4 separate regions of the Homo sapiens genome follow, and regions 1, 2 and 4 are each linked to region 3. The links are contacts of gene promoters, found by promoter capture Hi-C in human tissues and cell types (Jung and others, 2019). All regions are on one chromosome and are shown on one strand. Each heading gives the region's core, a stretch centred on a gene start or on the middle of the fragment in contact. The rest is flanking DNA. Distances are from core to core; before and after follow the strand shown. Region 1 has its middle 24 kb from the start of DUSP8. Region 2 has its middle 37 kb from the start of DUSP8. Region 3 holds the start of KRTAP5-1 (keratin associated protein 5-1). Region 4 holds the start of KRTAP5-5 (keratin associated protein 5-5).

The links. The method cuts DNA at HindIII sites, captures the fragments that hold promoters and counts their contacts. A contact is called where the count stands out against the background at its distance.
Region 1: a fragment that was not itself captured here is called in contact with the fragment with the promoter of KRTAP5-1 in region 3 in 1 of the 25 tissues and cell types used here (mesenchymal stem cells).
Region 2: a fragment that was not itself captured here is called in contact with the fragment with the promoter of KRTAP5-1 in region 3 in 1 of the 25 tissues and cell types used here (mesenchymal stem cells).
Region 4: the fragment with the promoter of KRTAP5-5 here is called in contact with the fragment with the promoter of KRTAP5-1 in region 3 in 1 of the 25 tissues and cell types used here (mesenchymal stem cells).

What each region holds. Positions count from the first base shown.
Region 1 is chr11:1,545,110-1,551,203 of GRCh38, reverse strand. No RefSeq gene overlaps it. Among named protein-coding and RNA genes, the nearest start is that of DUSP8, 24 kb to the left of the region's middle. The HindIII fragment of the contact is 8,025 bases long and covers 1-5,286 here.
Region 2 is chr11:1,531,594-1,538,004 of GRCh38, reverse strand. No RefSeq gene overlaps it. Among named protein-coding and RNA genes, the nearest start is that of DUSP8, 37 kb to the left of the region's middle. RefSeq lists an enhancer at 5,485-5,985. The HindIII fragment of the contact is 3,238 bases long and covers 3,505-6,411 here.
Region 3 is chr11:1,581,531-1,587,853 of GRCh38, reverse strand. KRTAP5-1 (keratin associated protein 5-1) reads left to right here and starts at 2,571. Exons shown (of 1, transcript NM_001005922.1): 1 at 2,571-3,512. The coding sequence starts at 2,605. The coding sequence ends at 3,441. The region is part of intron 1 of KRTAP5-AS1 (KRTAP5-1/KRTAP5-2 antisense RNA 1); the gene reads right to left. The HindIII fragment of the contact is 15,838 bases long and covers 1-6,323 here.
Region 4 is chr11:1,628,101-1,634,911 of GRCh38, reverse strand. It overlaps KRTAP5-5 (keratin associated protein 5-5), which reads right to left and starts at 5,137. Exons shown (of 1, transcript NM_001001480.3): 1 at 3,982-5,137. The coding sequence starts at 5,071. The coding sequence ends at 4,358. RefSeq lists an enhancer at 1,902-2,401. The HindIII fragment of the contact is 7,029 bases long and covers 2,980-6,811 here.

The DNA.
Region 1 (6,094 bases), core at 25-2,524, 35 kb after region 3:
GTGGGTGGATGGATGGATGGATGGGCAGATGGATGAATGGGTAGATGGATGAGTGGGGTGGATGGGTGGGTGGATGGATGGATGGATGGATGGGCAGATGGATGAATGGGTAGAGGGATGAGTGGGGTGGGTGGGTGGATGGATGGATGGATGGGCAGATGGATGAATGGGTAGAGGGATGAGTGGGGTGGATGGGTGGGTGGATGGATGGATGGATGAGCAAATGGATGAATGGGTAGAGGGATGAGTGGGGTGGGTGGGTGGATGGATGGATGGGCAGATGGATGAATGGGTAGAGGGATGAGTGGGGTGGGTGGATGGATGGATGGATGGATGGGCAGATGGATGAATGGGTAGAGGGATGAGTGGGGTGGGTGGGTGGATGGATGGATACGTGGGCAGATGGATGAATGGGTAGAGGGATGAGTGGGGTGGATGGGTGGGTGGATGGATGGATGGATGAGCAAATGGATGAATGGGTAGAGGGATGAGTGGGGTGGGTGGGTGGATGGATGGATGGGCAGATGGATGAATGGGTAGAGGGATGAGTGGGGTGGGTGGGTACATGGATGAATGGGTGGAGGAATGAATAGGATGGATGGATGGATGAATACATAAATGGGTATTCATAAATAGGCAAGTAGATGTGTGGCTAGGGAGTAGAAGGAAAGGAAGGTGGACAGATGGATGGACGGGTGGAGAAGTGATGGGGTGGATAGGAGGTGGAAGAATGGGTAAATGAGAGGGAGGGAGGGAGCGAAGGTGGGTGGGTAATAATGTTACATTGCGTTAGTTGCACTTCTGTTAGTCTTACATTAAAGCCAGCTTGTGCTTACCTCCATTCTCCATTGGACTGCAGATGGGTACCTGGTCTTTGCATACAGAAGGTACCCAGTGAATGTCCAATGAATAAGCCACATACTAACTGTCTTGGAGTGGGACATCACAGGAGAGACCCTCTCCAAGGCCCAGGGAGAGGAACAGGCTTGGTCAATGTCCCTTAGAGGGTCAGGGGCCAAGTTGGGGCTGGGCTTGGTTCCTGGTCTCTCAGGCACCATTCCTCTGCCTGCCGAGCCATCCCTGGAAGTAAGCTGGAGGCTGGTCTCAGTGGCACCCCTGCCAGCTGCCACTGTACTCCTGTGGATGGACTTACCAAGGCCCTTCCGGAGCTCAGAACTGAAGAGACTGAGCAGGAGAAAGGGCAGAGGGCCAGTTCTCAGGAAGCCTTTCAGGAGGAGAGTTTTGGCCTCTGAAGGCCAGGTTGTGTTTGGAGGGGCTGGGGGCAGGTGGGGCAGGAGGACATTGCAAAGGTCCACAGCATGGGAGAAAAGGCAGAGGTAGGAGCGCCCTGCGGGGAGCCAGGCAGAAGCTGAAGGCCTCTGGCCAAGGCAAGGCCCGACGGGAAGAGGGTGCATCTCGATGGGGCTCTGAATGGCAGGTGGGTTGGGGGAGTGTCTAAGAAGAGTGGTTCTTTGTGGGCAAGATGAAGGGAGGACTTGCTGTTAAGGGGAAGCCATGGAGTCTTTGAGGGGCCTATACAATGGACACCAGCAGAGGGTGCCCCAACCTCCCCGGAAGGGCGCAGGGCACAGGGCAGGGCGGGCCCTGGACAGAGGGTGGGAGAGGAGGGGCTGATTCTCAGCAGAGCTTCACAACAAATGCCTTGTGTCCATGGTGGGAGCACGTGGGGAAACTCAATTATCCCTGCAGGCAGCTGGGGCTCGGCGGCACAGTCCCTCCAGAGAAAGCACAGCCTTCTGGCCCAGGGGTGAGGGTCTAGACCTGTAAGGCAGCCCACAGTCCCAGGCCCCACTCCTGCCCCTGGGAATGGGTCTCCTGGGGTAGGAGCCTCTGTGGAAGACACTAGGCCCTGAAGGCGTGATGATGGCTTGTTTGTGAAGCGAGTGGTCCCTGACTGTGGGGACCAGAGCTCAGAGGGGATCCTGGTGGGGCGAGGGGAACATGCGTGTGCCTCCCACCCCCAAGCAGGGCGATGCCAGGGCAGGCCTTTGCCAAACACTAGGCAAGTGCCTGGGTGGATGCCCTTCAGTCCTTCCAAACTGAGCAGGTAGACTTGTCTTGCTTCAGAACCCTTCAATGTCCCCCTCCAGAGGGGCTGGGTTGGGGGTGGCCTCAGGGAGGGAAGGGGTATGGGAGCTGAACTGGAGTTGAGTGAGAATGCTGGGGAGAGGGAGGCCTCAGTAGTGGGGTGAGAGGAGAGGAACTCAGTGAAGGGCCTTCATTCTGGAAGGTGGGCGGGGGGAGGGGGACGGGTGCTAGGTCCAGGGGCATCTCTCCCAGTCTTTGCAGACACCACCCATGAAACCAAGGAACAGTGGCCTGTCCCCAGGCAGCTCCCAGGAGGAAGCTCTGGGAAGGAAAGGGGAAGACGCCGCTTACCCCTTCCCCGCCAGGAATTCTGCTGCCCCCCCCCCCCACCAAGTCCAGTGCCCTCCCACTCTGCCCCAGCACATGCGCCCTCATGGCTGAGCGCACCTGCAGAACGCACTCCCGCCCCCCACACACCTGGGGCCTCCGACCAGGACAGCGCAGGGCAGGTGACTACCCAGGAAGGGTAGGGGAATGTAGGGGGACTGGTGGCACCGTTGGCATCGCCGGCCGAAGCCTGCCCCTGACTGACGCAATTGCCGGCCGGTCGCAGCTATAAATAGCCAAGGAGAGCTGGAAATAGAAGCCAGGGAAGGGCCAGAGGCGGGTGGAGGGAGGAGCTTGGGCTTGAGCACCTGATGCCAGAGGAGGAAAACAAAACTCCATTCTAGGGCTCCCCTCCCTCATCCCACCCCAGCCCAGAGGGGCGTTTGCACCCGGAAACGTTTGGGGAAGCAGGGTGAAGTCAAGAACCTGCCCAACAGTGGGCGGGGCCTCCCTGCCGCGAGGGTCGGGGCGCGTGGAGCCTGCGCTGGCCACAGCCCGCGGTCTTCGGCTCTGGGTCATCTGCGGGGCAGTGGCCCCTCCTGATATCCGCCCGCCCCCACTCCCAAGCAGAAAGAGATTCCGGTGCCTCTCCACCCTCCCCACCCCACTCCCTCCGTCAAGCCCCTGGCCCAGGAGACCCCCGACAGCCCTGGAACACAGGGCCGATTGGCGAGATCAGTGGACACTAGGCCTGCCCAGAGCCTAGCCGGTGGGGGCGGCGTCCTGGGGGTGGGAGGGGGGCTTGTGGGGCAGTTTCCATATCTTCCTCGCCCAACCCAATCCTTCGGCCAGCGGCAGGAATGGGGCTCAGAGACTTTGCCGGCCTGGGGCAGGGCGCACTGCAGCCAGTGTGGAAGCCAGACCCAAACCGGACGGTCCCGGTGCCTGGTTCTGCTCGGTCACCTCTTGCCCACCTACCCAGCGGGCGCTCACAAGCTGGGGGCCCAAAAGAGGAACAGAAAACCAGAGGACTGGGGGGGCTTTGAGGCTGAAGGGCGAAGGCCCTTCCCGGACACCCTTGAGCCCTCCACCCTGAGCCCCTAGCAGCGCCAGGGAGTGACTTCAGTCCGGGTTCCTACTGTGGGGCCTCCGCCTCTCGGAGGGCATTAGGGCTGGCAAGGCGCGGCCGATGGGGCCCTTCGCCTGTGTGGACCGTAACAAGAAACTCCAGGAGGGGCAGGATTGAGGGCAGTAGGACGGGGTTGGTGTGGGCGAGGGGAGGTTTGGGTCCCCCCACCTCTCCGGGCAGCTGGTGGCGGCCCCGCCCTCCCTGAGGGCAAGGAACCCGCAGCCGGGAGGACGGCGGCTGCAGGCCAGTGTAGGGTGGGCGCGGTCCCATTAGAGCGGGCGGGGTCCGCCAGGATGGGCGGTGAGGTCAGCCCCGACGTAGGGGGCCCAGAGCATCGCTGGGTGGCTCGGGTGGCACCGGCGTCCGGGCCGCCAACCCCGCAGGAAGCGCCCAGTCACAATCCCGCCCCAGGGCTCCTCCACGCCCCGCCGCCCAGAGCCCAGAACCTGCCCAACCTGCGCGCGCCGCGGGGCGCAGCCGGGGGCTCCGAGGACCGGGAGGCAGGCGCGGGGGGTGCGCCAGCTGCTCGCGATGACCTCACGCCCGGCGGGGCCGCGCCCACTCCCAGACTGCCCTCCGCGGCGCTCTCCATCCGCAAAGCGCCGCTGCTCCTCGGCTCCCGCGTCCTGCGCGCCCCTCGCGGGTCCGGGTCCCCAGGCACTGCTGGCGTGGAGGGCGGGCGCGGGGAGCAGCTGCTCCGCTCCGAGCACGTGGGCAGCGCGGCTCCGGGTCCGGGGCCTAGGTGGGCAAACACCTGTCCCGCATGGGCGGGGCGAGCGCCCCTCCGGAGCCCGCCTGTCCGGCCCGGGGAACGTAGTATGAGCTCTTCTCCCGCCTCGGGCTTCGACTTGGGCTCGCCCGCCACCCCCACCCGGCGCTCCCCGAACCCGAGGCGGAGCGCAGCCCGGCAGCGCCATCTGCTGCCCGCGCCCGCCGAGGCTGGGGCCGGTTCTCGGGCCGGGGGCCCTGCACGCACGCCCACCCGTCGGGAACCCACCTGCTGGGAGGAAGGCACAGCCCTGTCTCCACCCCGCGCCCCCAGCCCACCCTCCTTCTAAGGCCCTCCCCTTGGTCCTTCGGCTGCCTCAGCTGTACCCACAACCTGCACCTGCTCTGGGCTTGCGGGTCCCGCAGGAAGGTCGCCCACACCGCGGCCCCAGGGACTCAGGCAGTCAGTGACCAGCTGTGTCTCCAGCCAGGTTTTCTCCCTGTCCTCCAGACCGGGCAATGCCAAATGGCAGCGGCCACCTGCGTCTGACTAGGCCCCCATCCCAACGCCTCCAACCCCCTTCGCGGCCACCCCCCCTTCTCAGGTAAGCAGTACACCTAGCTGCTGTTCTTGGCTCTCCCGCCACCACGCCCTCACCTGGATGGTTCCGCCAGACCCCGCAGGCCCCTTAGTCCGCCCCAGCCCTACCCAGCTGTCTACAAAGCGCATTCCTGGAAGGGCCCCTCCCTGGTCTGCCGGTGTGCTCTGCGCTCCTCCCCCAGCCCAGGTGCAGGGCGGCACTCTGAATCCCCTACCGTGCAGAGGGCATGTTCACCTCGGCCCTTGACTTCCCAGCAGGGCCTGGCATTGAGGGTGCCGCCCTGGGATATTGTGTGTGGCCTGAGGCTGCTGGAGCCAAGCACCGCAAACCAGGCGGCTTCAACAGAAACGTCTCTCCAGCCCTGCGCGGTGGCTCATGCCTAGAATCCCAGCACTTCGGGAGGCTGAGGCAGGCGGATCATCTGAGGTCAGGAGTAAGACACCAGCCTGGCCAACATGGTGAAACCCCAGTCTCTACTAAAACTACAAAAATAAGCCGGGTGTAGTGGCAGGCACCTGTAATCCCAGCTACTCAAGAGGCTAAGGCCGGAGAATCCCTTGAACTCGGGAGGTGGAGGTTGCAGTGAGCTGAGATGGCGTCACTGCACTCCAGCCTGGGTGACAGAGCAAAATTCTGTCTCAAAACAAAACAAAAAAAGAAGAAAGAAGGAAAGAAAGGAAGGAAGGAAGGAAGGAAGGAAGGAAGGAAGGAAGGAAGGAAGGAGGGAGGAAAGAAAGGAAGGAAGGGAGAGAAAAAGAAAAGAAATGTCTCTACAAGGTCTGGAGGCCATGAGTCCAAGATCCAGGTGTAGGCAGGTGGGCTCCGTGGAGGGCCAGGAGGGAGCATCTGCCTCAGCCCCTCGCTGCAGCCTTTCACAAGGCCGTCCACCCACCCTACTCCAGTGTGGCCTCATCTTAACTAGGTTCTTCTGCAGTGACCCTAGTTCCAAATAATGAGGTCACATTCTGAGGTACTGGGGTCAGGACATCGACATATGAATGTGGGATGCACAATCCCACCCATAACAGGTATCGGTGGGAGAAGGAGGCGTGTGCAGGCTCTATGACCACCACCGGGAACCCTTCAGACTGCCCTCACCACACTGCTGGCAACCAGTCCTAGGAACGGGCTCCGCAGAGGTGAGTTTGCAGAGCCAGCATCCCAGGAGGTGGGGCCCGCATGGGTTTGATAAGTAAAAGCTGTCAGGCTGTCAGGGTCCATCTGGTCCGGGGACTCCCACCCTCCTGCCCTCCAGCAATGCCTGGGGGGATCTTTAAAT
Region 2 (6,411 bases), core at 3,874-6,373, 52 kb after region 3:
CAGATTGAAAACAATGTTTAGCTGGAGCTGCAGTACAAGCAGTTCTGTCAGTTGCCACTTTTTTTTTTTTTGTCTCATTCTTGCTGCCCACACTAGAGTGCAATGTCATGGTCTTGGCTCACTGCAACCTCAACCTCCCAGGTTCAAGTGATTCTCCTGCCTCAGCCTCCCAAGTAGGTGGGATTACAGGTGCCTGCCACCATGCCCGGCTAATTTTTGTGTTTTTAGTAGAGATGGGGTTTCACTGTATTGGCCAGGCTGGTCTCAAACTCCTGACCTCAAGCGATCCACCTGCCTTGGCCTCTTAAAGTGCAGGGATTATGGGCATGAGCCACCACGACCAGCCTGGGGGACAGATTCTTGTGACCCTTGTTAAGACTTTGGTAACCAAGTAATCCTCCAGGGAAGGATGGTGGTACACTCATCTCATGGGCCCCAGGCTGGGTCTGGGTGCCAGGGGAAGGCTGGTGAGGACCTTGGAGCTGCTGCCTCAGAGGGCCCTGGCCAGGGAAGAGGTGTTTGCCGTTGCCTGGCTGTAAAAGTGGGCAGTTCCAAGAGGGCAGTGAGATTTTCAAGTGGGATTAGCATGGAGTGCAGTTATCTTTGCATATGTGGTTTCAAATCTATTGGACGTTGTGAATCATGAATTCTTTAACAATTCCTTAAATATATGCTTCCCCCCCTCCTTTTTTTTTTTTTTTTTTTTTTTTGAGACGGAGTCTTGCTCAGCTGCCCAGGCTGGAGTGCAGTAGCGCGATCTTGGCTGGCTCACTGCAACACTGTTTCCCGGGTTCAAGTGATTCTCCCCTCTCAGCCTCCTGAGTCGCTGGGATTACAGGCGCCTGCCACCACACCCGGCTAATTTTTTTGTGTTTTAGTAGAGATGGGGTTTCACCATGTTGGCCAGGCTGGTCTTAAACTCCTGACCTCAGGTGATCCGCCTACCTTGGCCTCCCAATGTGCTAGGATTACAGGCGTGAGCCACCGCGCCTGGCTGTGCTTCCTGTTTTAAGAGGTACATTTCAGTGGTCAAGTACTGCTTTTCCTCCAGAGCCTGTTTTAAGCTGGTATACAAGGATGCAGGGCAGAGAGGGCCCAGGGACTACTCTGTCTCTCCTTCCCTCTGCTCATTTCACATGTTTATTGAGCATCTACTATAAAAATAAGTTGTAAAAGCTGAAGAGTGAGCGAGCCGCAGGGACCCACAGGTCTCTCTCATTCTGGTCCACTGCTCACTTAATCAGGCTCTGCCACTGGAGAGGGGTCAGCGGTGAGTGAAGAAGCTTGCTCCTATCTCAGCAGCTTTTGTGTGGTCATTGCCAGCGCTTTCGTTGGCCATTAATCCTTCAACTAGCTGTCAGTCTGGGATTGGGGAAATGTGTTATTTTTGACTATTTCTTGATATTTTTAATTAATTCAAAGCACTCACTGTCAGCCAAGTAGTTAGTTTGGAATACAGGTCTCTTACGTTTTAAAAGTTTTTGTTTAAAGAAAGGATTTCTTTGAATTAGTTCATCTCAGATGACAAAGTATGGACTTGACAGTAGCAGCAAACAGTGCCTTTGCCTGCCGTGTTCTCTTCTGATCACCGGAAGAGTGTTCTGTGGATGTGCAAGTGAAAAGCCATGTCTTCCTTGTCACTGGGAGAAGAGCTAAGAGCCTGGCCTGCTGAGCATTCTAGCAGCCTTATCATCAGCACTCCTAGCCGCTCCTGAGGAACGGGGGCCCTGCAGGGAAACCTGCTCGGGAAACCGGAACAGAGCCCAGCACGTCAGGACTGGTGATGATGAGCGTGGCTGGGGCTTTTCCGGAGAAGGTTTGCAGGCATGGCTCTCCACCATCTCTTTCTCGTAGGTTTCCTTTGCTTGGCATTGCTTTGAGTTTGCTGGTGAAGTAGCTGTAAAGGTAAACTTTTTTTTCTCTCTTTCTTCCTTTTACAAAGAGTAATTTGTAACTTGAAAGCGGTTTCCACTTTTTGTATACAAGCTCTGTTCCATTCTGGGCAGCCAGTGACAGGATGTCATCCCGCGCCACTGAGTTGTAGGCAGGTGGAGAGGAGAAGCTTGAGCTGCGGTGGTTTCTGTGGAGGCTAGGGAAGGGAGGAACTCTACCACACACTGTTTGGAGTTTAGGAGAAACTTTTGTCTTGTCTTCAACTGACAACAGGCATTTGTGAAGAGGTGTGTGTGCAGTCAGTGTTACCCAACGGAACGCACAGCCCAGGAGCAGCTGAGCATCTGGGAATACAGGAGAGGAAACACACTTCCTCCCCTCCCGACTGATGGGAATGTAGCCGCCCTCCTGCTGGCCCTGCACAGGGCCCAGTGTGGTGGAGTTTGTGGGGAAAGGCCCCTCTCCTCCAGGCACCTTCTCTGGCTGGCCACAGCCAGGGCAAGGGGGCACGTATCTCAGGCACCCTTCCTTGGGGCTCTCCTGGCTCCTTCTGAGGCCGCACGGTGCCTTGACACCAGTGCCCTGGTTACTCTCCAAGCAGCAGGTGAACTGTGGGTTAGCGGGCTCGGGCTGTGGCACCACAGTGCTGGTGATTGAATACAGACTGCAGGTGAATGGGGAGGGCCTCTCTGGGGCCGCTGGCCTGTGCTTACTGACTCAGCTCTGATTGAAGACAGACTGCAGGTGAGTGGGGAGGGCCTCTTTGGGGCTGCTAGCTTGTGCTTACTAACTTGGCTCTCCCAGCTGCCTTCAGGGGTCCTCCTCTCTGACCGAGATAAAATCTCGTGAGTGTGTGTCTCTGCAGGAATGTGAATGGAGTGATGATGACCTTGTTTTTCTTCTTTCTTTTCTTTGCCGCATGGGAGGATGTTACTGGTGGTTGACAATTGATTCTGATTATGAGGACACCCAGGCTGAACTTGCTTGAATCTCTAGAGTTCTTTTAACAGCCTCATTGAGGTATAATTTACATACCATAAAGTTAACTTAAGTTTGCAATTAAATAATTTTTGGTAAAATTACAGGGCTGAGTAACCATCACCACAGTTTAATTTGAGAACTTTGCTATCATGCCCCAGAGAAGCCTCATGTCCACTGGCACTGCTCCCCATCCCCACCTCCAGCCTCGAGGCGGCCACCAGTCTCCCGCCATCTGTGTGGGTGAGCTGAATCATGCAAATGGAATCCCAGTACACGGGCTGTGTGCCTGTCCTATGCGGCGCAGTGTTGCGAACGTCCATCCATGGCGTTGCGTGTGTCTGCAGCTCCGTCCTCTTCATCACCAAGTGCAATTCCGTCCTGGGGAGATGTGCATCTGCCACTCTCCTTCCACCACTGATCCGCGGTTTGTGACTGTGACTTTTAGGACAGTGAGCTGGGCCTGTTCCTCAGCCGGGGGCCCCAGATTCCTGAGTTCATGGGCTGCCGTGTACCAGGCTCTGTGCTGGGGCGGAGGTCCAGAGATGGAGACACAGCCATTCCCGCTTTCCTAGAGCTGTCAGGCTGGTAGAGAAGGGCCCCAGGCAGCAGGAGAATTGAGGAGTGGGTGAGTGCGGCCAAAAGCAGGGGGCTCGGTTAGAGCAGGTATGAAGGGCTTTTCCAAGAGGGAAGGAGGAAGGAGGTGGCCCAGGAAGAAGCAGCAGCACATGCGGAGGTGTGAGCAGAGAAGCCGGCTGGCCCAGGTCTGCTGTATCTCCAGCGGGCAGCCCTGGAAGGTCTGGTTTCAGGAATAGCCTCTTTCCATCAGGGCTCCACCAGGGCACTCTTAGGCCTGGGTTTCAGAGGTGTTTGCCTAGGGTGGTGTTGCATTCAGAGTCCTCTTCTTTAAAAAAAAGTTTTCCATCATCCCTCCCGTTTCCAAATTAACCTTAAAAAGAGCAGTGGTCGGCCAGGTGCAGTGGCTCACGCCTGTAGTCTCAGCAGTTTGGGAGGCCGAGGCGGGCGGATCACGAGGTCAGGAGGTTGAGACCATCCTGGCTAACACGGTGAAACCCCGTCTCTACTAAAAATACAAAAAATTAGCCGGTCGTGGTGGCGTGTGCCTGTAATCCCAGCTGCTCGGAAGGCTGAGGCAGGAAAGTCACTTGAACCCGGGACGTGGAGGTTGCAGTAAGTGGGGATGGCGCCACTGCACTCCAGTCTGGGTGACAGAGTGAGGCTCCATCTCAAAAAAAAAAAAAAGCAGTGGTCGTGGATACATGGAGCCCTTTTTAGAATGAGCCTCCCCGTAAACCCCTAGCGACACCCCTCCCATTTCTCCTGCTCGGACTGACTACTAGGAACCCTTGCACAAGTGTCCTTGAAGCTGGGGGTGAGCCCACCAGGGGAGCTGCAGACGGCCTCCCCTGGTCGGGGGCTGGTAGACAGCAGGGCTGCGTTTCTCATCACGAGTGTATCTGAGACAGCGCAGCCCCCACCTTTGCCACCACCAAGTGCCACCCTTGTGTCCTGGCTCATGAGGGCCTCTTCCCAGCCCTGGGAAAGCCAGCCACCCTAGGGGTCTGCCTGCCAAGTGCTGCTGTCAGATCGAGCAGGGGCTTGGTGTACCACCAGACCCCCTCTCCAGAGGAAGCTGTGGTCTCTGCTGCGGTCATCCGGTACGGGAGGAGGGGTGTTGAGGCCACTGTGAGGGAGGACCCCTGTGCCATGCCCCTGTCACCCCAGTGTTTCTCCTTTGTCCACACAGCGGTCTGGGTTAGAAACACCAGGGCCCACTGCAACTTTTGTTAGGGCCACTTAGTGCTGGTTGGGAGCCACAGGGCCGTGGCCTTTGTTTCTCCGTGGTGATTACTGCTTGTGCAGCCTCCTGCCAGTGCTAGACCTGTCTGGAAGGGAAGGGCGTGTGCTGTTCCCGTCTGTCTTTGGCCAGAAGAGCCTCCCATTCTTTGCCTTCACCATGTTTGTTTTTTTCTGCACAGGATTTCTCCTGGCTGGGGCACACCCATTGGTGTTCAGTGGAAGTAGAAACAATTGGAACAAACAAAATGTGGAAGCTTAAAGAGAAAAGAAGGAGATGGTGGGCAGGGCTTCCAGGCCACGTGTGATCTGTGGCACTGCTTGGCCTGTGGACTGTGGCCACAGTCGCGTTGCTGTCCCTGGCTCCCTTCTCTTTGAAGGTCTCCTTTGCCAGCGCACACGGCTCCCTGGGCTGGAATGTCTGTTCATTCATCCCTGCAGTTGTTTGCGGATGTCCCGGGGCTAACGTGAGTTAGTTAATGTGAGTGAGTTAAGTGCCGCAGCTCCTGTTTTTCGCCCTGCGTGGTGGTGATTTTGGTCTGTGTCATCGAGCATTTCGCTGTGGTGGGCGGGGAGGCAAAGAGCTCCCACAAAGGTATGCAGCTTTTCCCTGCAGAAAGCAGGCAAGCTGGAGGGTTGGAAAGCATGGAGGCACCATGCTGTTTCCCTTTTGCCCGTGACCTTTGCGGGTTGGGAGACTTTTCTTCCAAGCACCCTTTCAGCAGCGCCTTTTCCCCTCCAGACATGGTGGCTGTGCAGGCTGTGGGCTGGCAGACCCTATCCCCACAGCAATGCAATCTCAGGAGCCCAGGTGGGGCTGTTGTCTCGGGGTTTGGCCTGCACCGTCTACGGAAGCTCCTAACTCCTGCTTTGCTGGGACTTGTCCTCAGCCCATGGAAAGGCCTGATGGTGCCAGGTGGCCCTGAGGAGCCAGATGCCTGAGCCTGGGGCCAGGCCTGGGCGTGAGCCCAGGAGCATAAAATTAGCTCCGGCGTGGGTTGAAAGCTGCTGGCGTGAGCATGGCTTGTCTGTGTTGAGTTTGTCTTGCACAGCCCTGGCCTCTCCCCACAGCCTGCGGCCAGCCCTCTACATGGGCGGCCGCTCTGGGTTCCTCCTCCCGGCACATCTGCCCTTCTGCTGCGTGCCCTGTTCTTTGTGCCACATGTGACAGGACCATTTGTCATAGCAGTGGTGTCATGAAATACAAGAGTGTGGGCCTGAGAATCTGGGTTGAGTCAGGTTCCTGTTGGAGGCCTGCATGCGCGCAGCCTGCTCTGAGTGCTCCGGACACGCGTGAACAGAGGCAACAGGAGCCACCCCTGGGCAGCTTCCCCACTGCCGAGGGGGACGGGAGTAAGGAGGTGTGGGATGGGGTGCCTGGAGGGGGTGCGTGGGAGAGCTGTTTGAATAGGAGCTCTAGAAGGCCTCTTTGAGAAGGTGCTGTTGAGCTGAGACCTGCGGAGGTGAGGGAGGGGACTCGCCATGCAGGCCTATGGAGGGAGCCCTGGCTCCCTGGTGCTTTGTCTCAGAAGGGCTGCCTTTGCCTCCTCCCCCTCATGGTTCCAGGGACACGTGGGTTTTTATTTAATATTTTTCAGTCGATTGTCGTCTTTAATAATATTTTGATGAATGGGCTGTGTCAAATTTAGCCAGCAGGAGCGCATGTGACTCAGCTCCCGTATCAGTTGAATAGACGAAGGGGCAGGGAGGGAAGCCTCTGTG
Region 3 (6,323 bases), core at 1,322-3,821:
AGAGGTTGCAGTGAGCCGAGATCACACCACTGCACTCCAGCCTGCGCAACAGAGCGAGACTCTGTCTCAAAAAAAAAAAAAAAAAAAAGAAGAAGAAGAAGAAGAAGAAACAAAAGGCTGGGCGCTGTGGCTCTCGCCTGTAATCCCAGCACTTTGGGAGGCTGAGGCAGGTGGATCATGAGGTCAGGAGACCAGCCTGGCCAACACGGTGAAACCCTGTCTCTACTAAAAATACAAAAATTAGCTGGGTGTGGTGGCACGTGCCTGTAATCCCAGGGGAGACTGAAGCAGGAGAATTGCTCAAACCAGGGAGTCAGAGGCTGCAGTGAGCCGAGACCATGCCACTGCACTCCAGCCTGGCAACAGAGCAAGACTCCATCTCAAAATAAAAGAATCCAGAAAATTCAAAGAACTTCAGACACCAATAAAAATAATAATGATCTTGGCCAGGTGTGGTGGCTCACACCTGTAATCCCAGCACTCTGGGAGGCCGAGGTGGGTGGATCACTTGAGGTCAGGAGTTCAAGACCAGCCTGACCAACATGGTGAAACCTTGACTCTACTAAAAATACAAAAATTAGCCAGGTGTGGTAGCACATGCCCGTAATCCCAGATACTCGGGAGGCTGAGGCAGGAGAATTGCTCGAGCATGGAAAGCGGAGGTTGCAGTGAGCCGAAATCGCACCATTGCGCTACAGCCTGGGAGACAGAGCAAGACTCTCCATCTCAAAAATTAATAATAATAACTATCTCAATTTTGTAAAGTGGGCCAAGGACGTGAAATTAACGAGACTCTAATGACAGGTGACCATATGGAAAGAGGCACAGCATGGCTAGTAACCAGGAAGAGGGAATATTAAACCACAGTGTGTAACACTGTGTTACACACCCACATGAAGGGTGTAAGTTGACAGTTGCAAGTTTTGGTGGGGGTGCCAGGAAACAGGAGCTCTCTGGCAATGCTGGTTGGACAGCAGCTGGCTGGGGGGATCCCTTGGGAAGACAGCTTGGTAACAAGAACCTCCTGACTTTCAGGCACCCACACCTGCAGGAGGGGTTTTGGGCAAGAAAGTTGCAGCTTGCTTGAAATAGCAACAAAAAGGAAACAAAAGGTCCATCAACAAGTAAATGGATAAGTCAATGTATATTTAGAAATCAGAGAAAACAAATAAATTAAAACCATATGTATCCCTAGAGAAAATCTCTTTAGCCTAACACCTATTTTTTTCAAAAGCAATTTACAGAAAGAGAAATACAGTGTAATACCCATTACATAAAGTTTTCAGCATGTAAAATTTTTTTTTCTTTTTTCTTTTCTTTTTTTTTTTTTTTTTTTGAGATAGAGTCTCACTCTGTTGCCCAGGCTGGAGTGCAATGGCGTGATTTCAGCTCACTGCAACCACTGCCTCCCAGGTTCAAGCGATTCTCCTGCCTCAGCCTCCCGAATAGCTGGGATTACAGGCACATGCCACCATACCTGGTTAATTTTTGTATTTTTAGTAAAGACGAGGTTTCACCATGTTAGTGAGGCTGGTCTCAAACTCCTGGACTCAAATGATCCGCCCACCTCAGCCTCCCAAAGTGCTGAAATTACAGGTGTGAGCCACCGCGCCTGGCCACAAAACATTTTTAAAGGAACATACATATTAAGTAGGAGTGTGAGGACCTTCATGAGAGTGGTGAATTCCAAATTCAAGAAATTATTAGGGTGGGACAGAAACAATATGGAGAGATGGAGGAACAGAGACTTCATTTATTTATGCCATTTTTTCCCAAGTTGAGTAGGGTTTTTTTTTACATTTTTTAAATATATTACTCTTTATACCATCGTTCAACTAAAATAGATCACTTTTTTTTTTTTTTTGAGACAGAGTCCCGCTCTGTTGCCCACACTAGAGTGCAGTGGTGTGATCTCTGCTCACTGCAACCTTCACCTCTGGGTTCAAGCCATTCTCCTGCCTCAGCCTCCCAAGTAGCTGGAGTTACAAGCATGCACCACCATGCCTGGCTAATTTTTGTATTTTTAGTAGAGATGGGGTTTTGCCATGTTGGGCAGGCTGGTCTCCAACTCCTGACCTCAAATGATCCACCTGCCTCGGCCTCCCAAAGTGCTGGGATTACAGATGTGAGCCACCACACCCAGTTAATTTTTGTGTTTTTAGTAGACACGAGATTTCACCATTTTGGCCAGGCTGGTCTCCAACCCCTCACCTCAAGTGATCCACCTGCCTAGGCCTCCCAAAGTGCTGAGATTACAGGTGTGAGCCACCATGCCCAGCCTAAAATAGATGCTTTTGTAAATCCAGTGTGACTCTGGAGTCAACAGGGAGAGGCTAGACCCTTGGGGGCCTCCATTAAGTCTGGACACAGATTCAGCAAGAGAGCAGCAGCCCACTGAGCAGCCCATACACCAAGGGGCGGATTTCTAGAGGAAACAAGAAAAAGGGGCCCTAAAAATGGCACAAACAGGAACCAGGAAATGTGTGCCCAGCCTCACACATGACCCTGGGCAGGGATATAAAGGGTCCAGGCTCAGGGAGCTCCACACCTGCACCTCCCTCTCACCTGCTCCTCTACCTGCTCCACCCTCAATCCACCAGAACCATGGGCTGTTGCGGCTGCTCCGGAGGCTGTGGCTCCAGCTGTGGGGGCTGTGGCTCCGGCTGTGGGGGCTGTGGCTCCGGCTGTGGGGGCTGTGGCTCTGGCTGTGGAGGTTCTGGCTCCAGCTGCTGTGTGCCCGTCTGCTGCTGCAAGCCCGTGTGCTGCCGTGTGCCAACCTGTTCCTGCTCCAGCTGTGGCAAAGGGGGCTGTGGCTCTTCTGGGGGCTCCAAGGGGGGCTGTGGCTCCTGTGGAGGCTGCAAGGGGGGCTGTGGCTCTTGTGGGGGATCCAAGGGGGGTTGTGGCTCCTGTGGGGGCTCCAAGGGGGGCTGTGGCTCTTGTGGGGGATCCAAGGGTGGCTGTGGTTCCGGCTGTGGGGGATGTGGCTCCAGCTGCTGTGTGCCTGTCTGCTGCTGCAAGCCCATGTGCTGCTGTGTGCCAGCTTGTTCCTGCTCCAGCTGTGGCAAAGGGGGCTGTGGCTCCTGTGGGTGCTCCAAGGGGGCCTGTGGTTCTTGTGGGGGCTCCAAGGGGGGCTGTGGCTCCTGTGGAGGCTGCAAGGGGGGCTGCGGTTCTTGTGGGGGATCCAAGGGGGGTTGTGGCTCCGGCTGTGGGGGCTGTGGCTCCGGCTGCGGTGTGCCCGTGTGTTGCTGTTCCTGTTCCAGTTGTGGCTCTTGCGCGGGGTCTAAGGGAGGCTGCGGGTCATCCTGCTCCCAGTGCAGTTGCTGTAAGCCCTGCTGCTGTTCCTCAGGCTGTGGGTCATCCTGTTGCCAATCCAGCTGCTGCAAGCCCTGCTGCTCCCAGTCCAGTTGCTGTGTCCCCGTGTGCTGCCAGTGCAAGATCTGATTTCTGGCTTTGCAGGACTCTTACCATGGCCAGGCATTCCTGCCCAGCCTTTACCTCCTTTTCCTGGCACCCAGTGAGCCAGACTCTCCTTCCCCACCCACTACCCTATCTCCCACCCTCCTGCCTTGCCAAGCATGAACACTTCTCTTTGACCTTCTACCAAGAAATGCCATGGGCCCATGCATCCAAGAAGAATGACTTTCAAGGCCTCCCTTCCAGGCATCTGGAGACCAGCCCCCCACCGCCCCAGCCACCTGCAGCAAATGCCTATCCGCAAGCCCTGCCTGCTGGCACCACATCCAGCACGGACAGCCCTGCAGGACAGCCCAGGGTGCTTGCTCACTCTGCAGTCACTAGGAGTTCAGATCTCTGTCCTTTAAACATCCAATAAACCGCTCACCCCAGCACCCCATAGCTGTCTTGGTATATTTATGTTTATTTCCCTCTCGAGGCAGGTGGGGGGCATCTGTGGCTACACTGGGTCCCCTGGGAACCACACACACACACACACACACACACACACACACACACACCGGCCCTGAACCAAACCGGAGCAGGCAGGTGGGCGCCCTGGCCAGCAGGGATCCTGGATACATGGTGGCGGTCAGAGGCAGGAGCACCAGCAGCCACCTGGCTCAGCCCCTTGCCGTGCAGCCTCTACCACACCCTCTCAGCATCTGGCTCAGGGCGGGGGTGCCTTGCCTTGATCAGGCAAAAGCAATCACTAGGGGGTCATCATGGCCTGTTACCACGCGGTCTTATTCTCTTTGGGCTGATGTAACAGAACACCATGGACTGGCATGTACAACAGAAGTGTATTTCTCAGGGTTCTGGAAGCTGGCAGTCTGAATTAAAGATGCCGGCGGCCAGGTGCGGTGGCTCATGCCTGTAATCCCAGCACTTTGGGAGGCCGAGGGGGGCGGATCACCAGGTCAGGAGATTGAGACCATCCTGGCTAACACGGTGAAACCCCCCTCTCTACTAAAAATACAAAAATTTAGCCGGGCATGGTGGCAGGCGCCTGTAGTCCCAGCTACTCAGGAGACTGAGGCAGGAGAATGGTGTGAACCCGGGAGGCGGAGGCTGCAGTGAGCCGAGATCGCGCCACTGCACTCCAGCCTGGGCTACAGAGCAAGATTCCGTCTCAAAAAAAACAAAAAACAAACAAAAAAAGCCAGAAGAATGCAAATATGACATTCCAGAGGGGATGTATATGGAAGGTCAGCAATCCCATTGCAGCAACCAGAGAAGGCCACATTAATTACAGAACTCAGATGGTAAAATAAATAAATAAATAAATAAATAAATAAATAAATAAATAACTTCAGGAAATCCTACCGTATGTATCTTACCACAATTTTTTTTTTCTGAGATGGAGTCTCACTCTGTTGCCCAGGCTGGAGTGCAGTAGTGTGATCTCCACTCACTGCAACCTCTGCCTCCTGGGTTCAAGCTATTCTCCTGCCTCAGCCTCCTGAGTTTCTGGGACTACAGGCATGAGCCACCATGCCCAGCTAATTTTGTTTTGTTTGTATTTTTAGTAGAGATGGGGTTTCACCATGTTGGCCAGGCTGGTCTCAAACTCCTGACCTCAAGTGATCTACCTGCCTCACCCTCCCAAAGTGCTGGGATTATAGGCGTCAGCCACTGCATCCGGCCCACAATTTTGAAATACCGGAAAAATGTATCTATAAAAAAGACATTGGAGAACTGTAGAAGCAACAAGAACCAGATGAAAACATTCAGAGAGAGCCCTTCCAAGATGAGCTGAATGTCGGCTTCTCTCCCTTTAAGGAATTAACCAGTGCTGGGTATGAGCTGAGCCTCGGTCCCACTGGGGAAGAGGAATTCTACTGGGAGAAATACCCAGCAGGGCTCTTGGCAACCACAGGGGCTGGAGCAGAAAACTGGGACATTTGCAAATTTCTGGGGAGGCTAAGAAGTGAGGCCTGAGGCCTCCGCAGGTGCGCTGAAGTCTCGCATAGCCTTGTGGAGCTTAGTACACAGAGCTTTTCTAGAGGAAGGGGTCCTGCCCCAGGCACAGGTTAATCTGGCCCTTAAGACATTTTCCAAATTTTGAAGCTGCCTGAGCAGACAACTAAAGAGCTAAGCCTGTACCTCAGGGAAAGAAGTGACTCTCTGACAGCCTGTCAGGGATAAGAAGACACGGACTGGCCAGGCTCTTAACCAAAACTCCAGGAAAGCCACACAGAGGGACGATTGACTGAAGTGGCCCAATCCCTAACTGAGCGGGTAGACGAAATGTTCAGCTCCTCTCCCTGTCTGCACTAGAGAGGGAGGCCACGTGCTCACTGTTGGAAGAGAGCAGCTAGACCCCCACAGTCCTTAGATGGAGACCCCCACGGTCCCGAGATATAGACCTCCACGGTCCTTAGATACAGACCCCCATGGTCCTGAGATATGGAGCCCCACGGTCCTGAGATATAGACCCCCACGGTCCCGAGATACAGACCGCCACAGTCCTTAGATATAGACTCCCACAGTCCCTAGATATAGACCCCCACGGTCCCTAGACACAGATCCCTACGGTCCCTAGATACAGACCCCCACGGTCCTGAGATACAGAACCCCACGGTCCCGACATATGGTCCTTAGATATGGACCCCCACGGTCCCGAGATATAGACCCCCCACGGTCCCGACATATGGACCCCCATGGTCCCTAGATATGGACGCCACGGTCCTTAGATATAGACTCCCACAGTCCCTAGATATAGACTCCCACGGTCCCGAGATACAGACCCCCACGGTCCTGAGATACAGATCCCCACGGTCCTGAGATATGGACCCCCACGGTCCCTAGATATAGACCCCACGGTCCTTAGATATAGACTCCCACAGTCCCTAGATACAGATCCGCAC
Region 4 (6,811 bases), core at 3,888-6,387, 44 kb before region 3:
CCTGACCTCAGATGATCCGCTTGCCTTGGCCTCCCAAAGTGCTGGGATTACAGGCATGAGCCACTGTGCCTGCCCTGTCTTACCCTTTAATCATCAGTTCACCTGAAGCTTTATTTGAAAATAGTATTCTTTTCCATCAACTACAATGTTCTTTACTTTTTGGTTTTTGAGGCAGGGTCTTACTTGGTTGCCCAGGCTAGAGTGCAGGGGTACAATCATGGCTCACTGCAGCCTCAGCTTCCTGGGCTCAAGCAATCTTCCCTCCTCAGCCTCCCAAGTAGCTGGGACTACAGGTGCACACCACCGGGCCCGGCTAATTTATTTTTATTTTTCATGGAGACCAGGTCTCACTATGTTGCCCAGGCTGGTCTCCAACTCCTGGGCTCAAGTGATCCTCCTGCCTCAGCCTCCCAAAGTGCTGGGGTTACAGGCAAGAGCCACTGTGCCCAGCCATTTCCTTTACATTTAATTTCTAAGTTTGTCTTGTGGATGTTTGCTTTGCAATGTTGCAGCCGTTTTCCAAATCTAAAGGTTCAAAAGTGTTTGAGGAATTCTAATAACCCCCTGGTTTGCTCTATGCTAACGTCCATATACACAGTTTCATTCTGTAACAATTTACTGTGTACCGCCTGAGCTTGGCAGCTCCTTTCCTAGCCCTGGACTGGGAAGCACATATTTAGCAGGTGCTGGGGAACCAAGCTCTGGGGACAGACAGACCAGCCAGCTGCCCACCCTGGGCTGCTGCTGACATGCGCAGGGTCTCTCCTCCCCGTGAGCCGCAGCTGCCATGACTGCCCTTCTACCGCTGCCAACTCCTTCCTGGGCCCCGGTTCCAGCCCAGCCTCCCCCTGGTGCCCTGGACTGCCCTCAGATACACACCACGCAGCCAGGTCTGTGCTGCCCACCGTGCCCAGGGCCCTGCATGCACACGCGTGCACACTGCCCCTGGTGCAACCCCTGTCGTGTGCACACTCCCCTGTCCCACCAGATTTGCCCCCAAAGCCCAAGCTGATAAACAAAGTTATTTAGAATTTCTCTTTTTTTTCTTTTTTTTTTTGGAGACGGAGTCTCACTCTGTCGCCCAGGCTGGCGCGCAGTGGCACCATCTCTGCTCACTGCAACCTCTGCCTCCCGGGTTCAAGCAATTCTCCTGCCTCAGCCTCCTGAGTAGCTGGGACCACAGGCGCCCGCCACCTCGCCCAGCTAATTTTTTTGTATTTTAGTAGAGATGGGGTTTCACCATGTTGCCCAGACTGGTTTCAGACTCCTGACCTCAGGCGATTCACCCACCTCGGCCTCCCAAAGTGCTGGGATTACAGGCATGAGCCACCACGCCCAGCAGAGAATTTCAAGACAGTGACAGCAAGGCATGAAGCCTTCTAAGTGTGGGAACTTGTGTGTTTGTGGGAGCTGCATGCCCATGCAGCAGGCTCTGGGACTGAGGCAGGAAAATACGGTCTGGAGGCAGGGAACATAAGGCGGATTCGCACTTCAGCTATGACAGGACATGTCCTCCCCATGGGCACACAGCGAACAAATGACTTTGTAACTTCATTCTCTTCATTTACATAGGGCGGACCTCCAGTACAGGGTATTTAAACTCACAAAAACTCTTTAACGGGGCCCTTATAATAGTATAAAGCACATCTCTGGGTGGAGATTTAAGATGCTAATGAGACATGAATGGTATGAACAAGCGTGTACAGCTACTGCACACATGCACCCAGAGGACCACCCAGAACATGCTTCCTAGCAACACCTCTTCCCAGCTCCTTAGGAATAATCATGGAAGAGTCCCATAAAGGGAGCCTCCCTCAGGCCGGTCTCTGCTTCTCATCCTTGTGAGCAGCCCGCCCTGCACCCTGTCTCGCCCAGGGCATCCTGTCTGTTCTGCACCTCACTTCCACAACATTCTTTCTCCTTTGCAATGAATTCCGCTCGGCTGCTCCCACACTGTGGAGTGCACTTTCCTTCTCAATAAATCCCAGCTTTTGCTCTCCTCGCTTTATTTGTGCGTTTTGTCCAATTCTTTGTTTGAGAAGCCAAGATCCTGGACACCCTCCCTGGGTACAGTAACAGGGCTACAGAAGCCTTAGTGGGGGGATAATTGAGGGGGGAAAAGGCAGGAAGTAGGCGAGCCCCACCCACAGAGTCTCCACCCCCTCCTCCGGTCCTGTCTACACTGCATGAGCTAGAAGATAAAAATGTCAATTCCAAGGCCAGGGTGAGAATGAGGTCCTGCCAATCGAATGCCTTTCCCCAGGTCTGGAAGGGAAGGCAGGCAGAGGCCCATGCCAGGGCTCAAGTGCTGCTGCGCATGAGGGCGAGCTGTGCACCTGTGGCTTCCGCTGCAGCTGGTCACCTGCTTCCCCAGAGAAAGGCTTGGGTAGACGCACACCCCAGTGCTGTCACCAGCCTGTGGACGCCCTGAGGTGGCTGTGGCAGAGGTGGCGGTGAGGTGGCTCCCTGTCCCTGGACCACATGGCAGGTGCACTGGAGCTCAGGGTTCCAGGACAGCTTGGAAACCTGAGGTCTCCAGGGGCCCCTGCTGTGGACAGCTGGAGTCCTTCCAGGAAGTCCAGGTCCCAGAGCTGCCATCGAGAACATAAGCTTCTGATTTCCACTCTAGATCCCCCCGACAGAAAATACCCTGAATGACTGCTTTTCCTGCTCTGACTGAGCCACCGCTTGTACTCGCTTCCTGGGGCAGCCCTAACAAAGGACCACAAATGACAGAAACATCCCTCTCCCAATCCTGGGGGCCAGAAGTCTGAGATGCAGGGGTGGGCAGGGCTGGTTCCTTCTGGGGCTGCAACAGAGCCTCTGTTCTGGTCTCTTCTAGCTTCTGGGTCTTGCTGGCAACCCTTGGTCCTCTGTGACTTATAGAAGCATCACCCCAACCTCTACCTTCATCTTCACGTAACGTCCTAATGTCCATCAATGACAGACTGGATAAAGAAAATGTGGTACTTATACACCATGGAATACTGTGCAGCCATCAAAAAGAATGAGATCATGTCCTTTGCAGGGACATGAATGGAGCTGGAGGTCAATATCCTTCACAAACTAATGCAGGAACAGAAAACCAAATATCGCGTGTTCCCACTTATGAGTCAGACCTGAGCACTGAGTACATAGGAACACAAGGGAACAACAGCACTGTGGTGCATTTGGCGGGGGTGGCGGGGGCAGGAGGAGGGTGAGGATCAAAAAGTCACCTATTGGGTACTATGCTCATTACCTGGTTGATGAAATAATCTATACACCAAACCCCCATGACATGCAATTCATCTATATGGCAAGCCTGCACATGCAGCCCTGAACCCAAAATAAAAGCTGAAAGAAAGCTTGTCTCCAGGCTAGGTTGCCTTAGAAGGCACTGGGCATTTGGGCTCCCCCAGCTCTGGAATTTTTTTTTGGAGGTGGGGATCTATTCAACTCCCGGCTGCCTTCGAGCTTGTGTCCCGCAGCTGGCGTTGTGTGCAGTCCTGCCTTCTCCTGTCTGGTTTTTCAAGGCCCTGTGAGATTGCAGATAAGCCCAAGCTCCTCCGCATCTCCACGTCTGGCTCCTGCATGCACTAGGGGCTTCTTAGGGCCTGATGTACCGCACAGCTCAGCATACAGACCCTTCCTCATCCTTCCGCTGAAGTGGCCTGGCCCTGAGCTTCCCTCCCTCCCACGGGACGGCAGTGCCTCCACGGCTGACACCACCGCCCTCACCACCTTTCCCTCTCCCCACCTCTCCCCACATACCAGACTGTGAGCTTGGATTTACTCTGCTCTGTCATCTCTGGAGCCCAACACAACAAGGGGCCCAGAGCAGAAAGCTATAGACGTTAGTTCTGTGCATGAAGACATGGACCATGACATGAAAGATGCTGAGGGGAGAGAAATGGGAACAGGCCCAGGGGTGGAGGCAAGAAGATGGTGCTTCTGGGAATGAGAGAGAGGTGGGAAGGAGAGAACCACAAGACAGTGAGCTTTGTGCTTAGAGACTTTGTTTATTTAGAGGGTCAGGATTCAGTCTTGATATACAGACAGCCAGAGAGATTGAGGGTCGATCACACTCCTGAAAGAAGGAGCAGCTGTCAGGGTCTAAGGGGTCTGATCTGCCTCTGGGGCCTCAGTGGGCCGCTTTGGATCTTAAATGAGTGAGGAGCAGGGAGAGGAAGTTCAGGAGAAGTAGTAGGCAATGAGCCAGAAGGGGTCCTCAGTCAGTTTCGGGAGCACTGGTGTGGAGTGGATGAAGCCAGTGAGGACACAGTGGAGACAGTGGAGCACCAGAGAACCCAGGGCAAGGAAGCTGGGCAGCCGGGCCCTTCACCAGTCAGGCCACCTGCAGTCTGCAGTCAGAGCCTCAGATCTTACACTGGCAGCACACGGGGACACAGCAGCTGGACTGGCAGCAGCAGGGCTTGTAGCAGCTGGATTGGCAGCAGGATGATCCACAGCCTGAGAAGCAGCTACAGGGCTTACAGCAGCTGGACTGGCAGCAGTAGGGCTTACAGCAGCTGGACTGGCAGCAGTAAGGCTTACAGCAGCTGGACTGGCAGCAGGATGACCCACAGCCTGAGGAGCAGCAGCAGGGCTTGCAGCAGCTGGACTGGGAGCAGCCATAAGAACCACAGCCCCCCTTGGACCCCCCACAGGAGCCACAGCCCCCCTTGGACCCCCCACAGGAGCCACAGCCCCCCTTGGACCCCCCACAGGAGCCACAGCCCCCCTTGGACCCCCCACAGGAGCCACAGGCCCCCTTGGACACCCCACAGGAGACACAGCCTCTCTTGGAGCCCCCGCAAGAGCCACAGCCCCCTTTGCCACAGCTGGAGCAGGAACAAGCTGGCACACAGCAGCACATGGGCTTGCAGCAGCAGACAGGCACACAGCAGCCGGAGCCACATCCCCCACAGCCCGCACAGCCGGAGCCACAGCCCCCACAGCCTCCACAGCCGGAGCCACAGCCCCCACAGCCAGAGCCACAGCCTCCACAGCCGGAGCCACAGCCCCCACAGCCGGAGCCACGGCCTCCACAGCCGGAGCCACAGCCTCCGGAGCAGCCACAGCAGCCCATGGTTCTGGTGGATTGAGGGTGGAGCAGGTAGAGGAGCAGGTGAGAGGGAGGTGCAGGTGTGGAGCCCCCTGAGCCCGGGCTCTTTATATCCCTGTCCAGGGTCAGGTGAGAGGCTGGGCACACTGTCACTTCCTGGTTCCTGCTTGTGCCACTGGTCCCAGTATTCTCTTCTGCTTTACATTTTTATAAATAACTCCTGTTTTCCTCGCACTTTTCTCGAATGTGCTGTCAGGTCTGTGATGGAAGCGGCCCCTCAGTAAACACTGGCCCCGCGGTGAGTTTCCCTTTCCATGTGACAAGAAGGAAGCGATGGGCAGGCAGTGGCTCGCTCAGAGGCCTTGGTCTTGCCGAGGGTGATTTTGAGCCCAGGACTCCTGGCTTGCTCCCGGGAAGATTCCTCTGCGGGAGCATCGTGTCTTGCTTGGGACGTGCCTAGGCCCTACACCTTCACGGTCCACAGCAGCTCCTGGCCCGCGGGCTGTTTCCAAGGGTCCCAGGACCTGGGGCTTCAGCCCTCAGCTCAGCAGGGTCGTTTTCGGTGTAAGACTTTGTTGGAAGGTTTGCAGTGTTGACTGAGACGGGGATTTTAAGCGCTTATTCTGGAGCTTGCTGCGTGCTCCCCATGGAAAGTGTTCTCCTGTGATAACCGCGGTCTCTTCCAGGGCTTTCAGACCACTCGGGTGGCAGGGCTGACAGATACAGTACAGGATGCCTGCTGGAACTTGAATTTCAGATCATCGAAGGCTGCCTTTTGAGGAAGGAAATCCAAGCATTGCAAGGGGCAGACACTGCCTCTGCGCTGGGTCAGGACCCAGATCGCATTGTCTCCTGCAGCGGTTCCTCCTGCCGCCGCACGGTGTCGCTGTGAAGCGGGTTCCCCCACTGCGTGGCCGGCCCAGGGGCTCCCGGACAGCGGCACAGGCTGATGGCAGAGGCCCTTTCAGGGCCAGTGAGCGGAAGAGGATGCCCTGTCTGGGTGCCCGCCTGCTCCGGGTCCCGGGCTCAGCCTGGGAAGCAGCAACTACATTCGGGTGCAGGCCCACTGGATGCTAAAGAAAGCCGGTGGAGAGCAGGGAACCGGATGGCCATTTGCCCCCGTGACCACAATACCTGTGAGTGCCCCGAGCCCAGTCAACAGGCCTCAGGCCACGGTGTAAACACCAGCTGGCACTCGGTGACTCTTGCCGTGTATGCTGGAGCCCCACTCTGTTCTGGGGCAGGGGACTGTATCTCAGGGAGGAACAGAAAACCCATTAGGAGAGAGCCGCCTTGTGTTGGCTGTCCCCACCAGAGGCGGCATCCTCCAGCTCTGGAACAGAGGCAACAGATACATTTGCTTCCTGATACATTCGCATCCAGCGCCTGATACATTCGCATCCAGCGCCTGATACGTTCGCATCCAGCGCCTGATACATTCGCATCCAGCGCCTGATACATTCGCATCCAGCGCCTGATACATTCGCATCCAGTGCCTGATACATTTGCATCCAGCGCCTGATACATTTGTCCCAGTGCTTGATACATTTGCTTCCAGTACCTCGTATATTTGCCTCCAGCCCCTGAAGTAATGTATCAACACCCGCGCTGACTCCTAGTGACACCCTTGGATCAGCTCCTTCCCTCGGGTACAAGAGGACTTTTCCTTTTGTACTTTGGGAACATCTTCCCTTTCATGGGCCTTTGTTCTTCGTGGTCCATTGATGACCTTCGGGTTCGCTGAATTGGGCAAAGAGGATCATC